Linked DNA regions of Homo sapiens: region 1 is linked to region 2. Evidence: promoter capture Hi-C in 16 types of primary human blood cells and fetal thymus (Javierre and others, 2016). All regions are on one chromosome and are shown on one strand. Each heading gives the region's core, a stretch centred on a gene start or on the middle of the fragment in contact. The rest is flanking DNA. Distances are from core to core; before and after follow the strand shown.

What was found. Contacts are between HindIII fragments. The CHiCAGO score rates a contact against its expected background, and 5 or more counts as called.
Region 1: a contact is called between a fragment that was not itself captured here and the fragment with the promoter of COG3 in region 2, in 1 of 17 cell types (total CD8 T cells). The highest score is 6.0, in total CD8 T cells.

Annotation. Positions count from the first base shown.
Region 1 is chr13:46,296,185-46,299,271 of GRCh38, forward strand. LINC00563 (long intergenic non-protein coding RNA 563) reads right to left here and starts at 1,660. Exons shown (of 1, transcript NR_047493.1): 1 at 261-1,660. The region is part of intron 2 of LOC105370194 (a long non-coding RNA gene); the gene reads right to left. RefSeq lists an enhancer at 248-1,447. The HindIII fragment of the contact is 4,337 bases long and covers 1-3,087 here.
Region 2 is chr13:45,463,280-45,466,321 of GRCh38, forward strand. COG3 (component of oligomeric golgi complex 3) reads left to right here and starts at 1,660. Exons shown (of 23, transcript NM_031431.4): 1 at 1,660-1,931. The coding sequence starts at 1,758. The HindIII fragment of the contact is 5,472 bases long and covers 1-3,042 here.

The DNA.
Region 1 (3,087 bases), core at 334-2,833, 830 kb after region 2:
GACCAGCTATGACTAAAACAGCTAAAAAGGATTGAGAAACAGCAAGAGAGAAACTATGCCCTCTAAAGAAGCAGACTTCCTGCCTTGGCTAGCTTGTGTTAGAGCAGATTCTGCCAAATAATACCACTATAAAACGTGTCTTCAAAAAAGCTGTATCTTCCAAAAGATGATGTAACAGTTGCTCTAGGGAGGCAATAGCAATGTTCAGATGAATGGTGAATTCCTTTCCTATTGCTGCTCTAACAAATTACCACAAATCAGTGGCTTAAAACAAAACAGCTTTATTACTGCACAGTTTTGGAGGTCTGAAGTCTGAAATGGGTTTCACTAGGTACAAGTCCAGGTGTCAGCAGGGGTGTGTTCCAGCTTCTAGAGGCTTCCTGCATTCCTTCGCTCATGGCCTCACTCCTCCATCTTCTAAGCCAGCAATGTCAGGCTGAGCCTTCCTCATGCTGCCGCCTTTCTGATTCTTTCTCTCCTGCCTCTCTCTTATAAGGAACATTGTGATGACATTGGACCCACCCAGATGATCCCAGATAGTCTCACCATCTCAAGGTCAGCTGATTATCAACCTTAATTCAGTCTGGAACCTCAAGTCTCCCATTGCCATGTGACATAACATAGTCACAGGTTCCAAGGATTAGGATGTAGATATCTTTGGGGGGCTATTATTCTCCCTATCACAAAAGGGAACACCAGAGTCTTCAGTTTAGCAATCTTCAAGGAATGTTGACAAAGCAAGAATCTGAGGCTTTGAGAATGTAGGTAATTTTCCCGAAGACATTCTGCAAGTAGGAGATAGAGCTGGAACATGACCAGATCTGTCTGCCAAGTAAGCCCAGGCTCATCCTCCACACGCTGCCCCCATCAGGAGGCAACCTGGCCCCTTCTACTGAATCTCTACATCAGATGGAGCCTGCATATGACTCAGCAGAAACCTCAGAGGAAATTCTGCTTCCTTCAGGAATTTCAGGGCATGGTGGTGATTGGAAAGAGTCAGGACAGTTGGCCTTTACTTCATATTGCATCACAACCACTAAGTGGCTTTGGGAAGTTTGCTAAAACTTTCAGGTTCTAAGGATCCTCGGCTGTGAAACCAGGAACTTGGACTAGATGGTGTCTAAGACATCTTTCAGTTCTAAAATTCTATAATTGAATGGTCTTATGGGTAAAACCACTTTGCTGCAGAACAGTGCCACTCAGAGCATAGTTTGTCGACCTCTGTCAGTCCAGAGTATTCGGTACCTGTCCATGACAAGATAAGGAGCTTAAGCCAAAATGTTAACCAACTACATCAGTAAGTGCACTGTTCAGTACTGCTGCCATTTGATTTTTTGTAGCAAGGCTTTCGTGGTGAAGGAAGCAGTGTGTTGATTTACTTCCTGGCATAATCTTCTTATCTCATTGCAGATTGTTAGCAAATAGTTCCTGGATGAGATTCTGAATAATGCTGATGTAGAAAAAACATTAAAGTTCAGAGGTGAATATGTGCTTAATATCTGAAAATTTTTAGAGAATGACAGCTGGTTGTTCTTGCCTCACAGAAAGGAATAGTATCCAGTAAGTATTTGTAAAAATACAAATGATGAAACTATCTTTGGGATCTGTGATAGACTGCAGTATTTCTTCCAGATTATTTACACTCTCCCTGCAAGAAAATTATACATCCAGGTCTACTGCCATGGGCCTTCCTGTGGAATACATTTCTTCCCACTATTGACATCAGACTTGGGTCCAGGGACTTGCCTTGGTTAATGGAATGTGAGCAGATGGCTTATACCATGTCTCAGCAGAAGTTTTGGAAGTCATTCACGCCTGTAATCCCAGCACTTTGGGAGGCCAAGGCGGGCAGATCACTTGAGGTCAGGAGTTCAAGACCAGCCTGGCCAACACGGTGAAACCCTCTCTCTACTAAAAATACAAAAATTAACTGGGTGTGGTAGCGCACGCCTGTAGTCCCAGCTACTAGGGAGACTGAGGCAGAAGAATTGCTTGAACCCAGGGGGTGGGGGTTGCAGTGATCCAAGAGTGCGCTACTGCACTCCAGCCTGGGCGACAGAGCAAGACTCCATCTCAACAACAACAACAACAACAAAAATCATTGCATAGTTCAGCCATGGCTTTTTTTCTTCTCTTAAAAAATGTGGGGGCAGGGAGGGGAAGGAAGGGGGTGTCCTAGGTAGGGGTGAATCTTTCAGCCTGTAAACCAGAATGAAGAAGACATGTAGAGCAGAGCTATAGTCAACCCTAGCTGACATATATTGTAAGCAAAAAATAATCCTTTGTCATTGTCCCTGAGATTTTGGAATTGTTTGTTACTGCAACCTAACCGAACAAATGCTGGTAGAACAATTTGTATTCCTTTGGGTATATACCCAGTAATGGAATTGCTGGGTCAAATTGTAGCTCTGTTTTTAGCTCTTTGAGCAATCACCACACTGGTTTCCACAATGGTTGAACTAATTAACACTCCCACCAAGAGTATATAAGAATTCCCTTTTCTCTGCAACCTCACCAGCATCTGTTATTTTTTGACTTATTGATAATAGCCAATCTGACCAGTGTGAGATGACATCTCATTGTTGTTTTGATTCGCATTTCTCTAATTAGTAGTGCATTCTTCTTTCTATTAGTAAGTACAACAAAGTTTTTACCTCAATAGCCTCATGGCCCAGTCAGGACTGCTTTATCTCAAAAAGCAAAGCAGAAACTACAGCTATTATGAAGTCAATGACAGTAGCATTGTTTACCCCCAGGCAAATAGATTTCTTATTGCTGAGAGCATACCCACCTCCTCCAACACACACACACACACACATACAGGATATGGATTAAGTTGAATGGTTCAAGTGTTTTATGTTTTCATAGCCACACTCCACTTCCAATAACTTACAAAGTCCTGTCAGTTCTACCTCCACCTCTTACATGTCTCTCCAATGTCTCTGGTTCCACTGCCACTATTCCATTCCAGGCCATCATTATCTCTCATCTGGACAATTGTGATAATTTACTAAGTGGTATGGCCATATACATCAACTCTTCCCCCACTCTAGCTAGCTTGCTATATAATTCTACAAAAGTCAGGGC
Region 2 (3,042 bases), core at 410-2,909:
TGTCAGACACAGTCAGGATATCTAAGTTCCAGTGGTGACGCTGATGTTAACCACCTGATTGCAGGATGTTAGGCTGCTTGCTTCACCTCTACGGGTTGTAGTTTGCTCCTCTGTAGACAGAAAGGGCTTGATTATATGATTTTAAAATTCTCTTCCAACTTCAAATTCTATTCTTTTTTTTTTTGAGACAGAGTTTAGCTCTTGTTGCCCAGGCTGGAGTGCAATGGTGCAACGTTGGCTCACAGCAACCTCCGCCTCCTGGGTTCAAGCGATTCTCCTGCCTCAGCCTCCCGAGTAGCTGGGATTACAGGCATGCACCTCCACGCGCAGCTAAGTTTTTTTGTATTTTTAGTAGAGACGGGATTTCTCCATGTTGATCAGGCTGGTCTCGAACTCCCGACCTCAGGTAATCCGCCCACCTCGGCTTCCCAGAGTGCTGGGATTACAGGTGTGAGCCACTGCGCCCGGTCTCAAATTCTGCTCTTAAAAGATCAGAGCCTTCATTTGGGAACATAGCCAGGCACTGATTTGTGCTATAAAGCCTGAATAAAGCCTTCAGACTTTACCCAGACAATGGTCAAAATTGCTACGAAGCTGTTTCCACCTGCCTTGACTCCAGGGAGGAGCAGGAAGAGGCCTCCATAACTTGTAGAAGATTGTCTGTTCTCCACCATTTATTTATTCAATCGTTTATTTATAGCAGTATGGACTCATGGGTATTTATTTTATTCTGTAAATTATGATCCAATACTATCATTATTTATTTTGTTGCTCAAATCTACAATATGATTTAAATGGTAGAGTAGAATTACATGTCTGTACCACAAATTATTATTATTATACATTTTGAGACAGTCTCACTTGATGCCCAGGCCGGAATGCAGTGGCAAGATCTCTGCTCACTGCAACGTCCACCTTCCAGGTTCAGGAGATTCTCCTGCCTCAGCCTCTCAGGCTGATTACTGGCATGTGCCACCACGCCTGGCTAATTTTTGTGCTTTTAGTAGAGACGGGGTTCAACCATGTTGGCCAGTCTGGTCTCAAACTCCTGACCTCAGGTGATACGCCCACCTCGGTCTCCCAAAGTGCTGAGATTACAGGCCTGAGCCCCCGCGCCTGGTCTGTGCCACAAATTCTTGATCCAGTTCTTCAATGTTGGACATTTAGGTTGTCTCCAGTTATTTGATACCATTAATGATGTCTGAGATACACACATCTTTGAATTTTTTATGTGTTTCCGTAAATTAGTTTTCTAGTAGGGGAATTACTGGATGTTGGAAAAGTTTATGCTTTTGGTTTTGATCCAAGAGGCATAAATTGTCAACATGCCAACATGGAAATCATACACTCCACACATTCTACCCAGACTACCCAGCTGTAAGCAGAGAGGTGTAGATCCAAGTCTCCTGCCGGCAGGGTGATTTAGCGCAGTTGTCAATAATCTGTACAACACGTAACAATAAAGTTATTGATGTTGAGGAAAAGACTTCCGGTAGGGGCATTTCTATTTCCATTGGGTCCTGTCTTCTCCACCTTCTACGTTTCAACCGGAAATAGTCGTACCCATTTAAAGCCACGTCGGTACTGGCCTCGGTCCCGCCCCCCACACTGCGGAACCGTTTCCGGGGTCAGGGCATTCCGTCCCGCCCCGCCGCCGGTGCAGTGTTGGAAGCTCCGGTTCTCCCGGAAGTGGCCCAGGTCTCTCTGTCGGGGTCCCCTCCATCTCGCTGCTGCTGAAGGCCGCGAGGGCGGCGGCGATGGCGGAGGCGGCGCTGTTGCTGCTGCCTGAGGCGGCGGCGGAGCGGGACGCTAGGGAAAAGCTGGCTCTCTGGGATCGGAGACCGGACACGACGGCGCCGCTGACCGACAGGCAGACGGACTCGGTATTGGAGCTGAAGGCGGCGGCAGAGAACTTGCCGGTGCCAGCTGAGGTGAGGTGATGGGCAGGAACCGGGCCGGGGCGATGGGGCTGGGATTCTCCTCGGGCGCCCCGGCAGGACCCCGGCCTCACTAGCCTCTGCCCAGGATATCTCTCCACTCCTCCCTGGCCATGGTGGCGGATCCGGTGGGAGGGGCCTCATCTCCCAGGCTGTCAGGCTTCGCTCTGCCTGCGACCCCGACTCTAATTCTGCCTGGGGACGGCTGTGGGGGTGTCCTGCAGCTGGTGCTCGCCGGAACCCAGTCCTCCCCCAGCAGCATGGGACGGTTGGCCCGGAGCCTTGCACCGAACGTTTTGCCCCAGACGAGGCGTCCTGTCAGCCGAGGCGTAATCCTGCTGCCCACTCTCTCCCAGAAGGAGAGGCAGTCAACCCGAGGTGCTGTGCTGCAGGACAGTCTCCAGCGCGTGCTCGTTTACCGCCTTAATGATTCACCTAGGTTGCTTTGTCCATGGGGGTCTTGGGGAGACCAAAACTTGGTCCTGAGTGAGTTTCATTTATCGCACATTGAACTATGAGCTCTCAATCAAGTGCAAGTTATGGGAGATCAGATTTATTTCACCTATTGCAAAGCAATAAAAATGAATTTTATTTGAAAGTTGGCTCAGTACATTATTAAGCAGTGCTGGTTTTCGGTGTTAGAGTCAATGTGTTTAATCCACTTACCATTAGGATATTATGCACTACTGCTTCTTGTGTGATTCAATTCAATTAGTTGTAATAGCAGGAAGTAACATGAATTGTCAGATGTTTGACAAACGTTTTCCAGTTTTGAGGGCCAGGTTTAGGAGGATTATTTTATATAAGCAGTGGTGATGGTTACTTTTGATGTTGGAAGCATTCTTTTCTCTCGCTCTGTCGCCCAGGCTGGAGTGCAGTGGCGTGACCTCGGCTCACTGCAACCTCCACCTCCCGGGTTCAAGCGATTCTCCTGTCTCAGCCTCCCGAGTAGCTGGGATCACAGGTGCCTGCCACTACACCCGGCTAATTTTTTGTATTTTTAGTAGAGATGGGGTTTCGCCCTGTTGTCCAGGCTGTTCTCGAACTCCTGACCTCAAGTGATCTGCCCGCCTCGGCCTCCGAAAATGCTGGGATTACAGTCGTG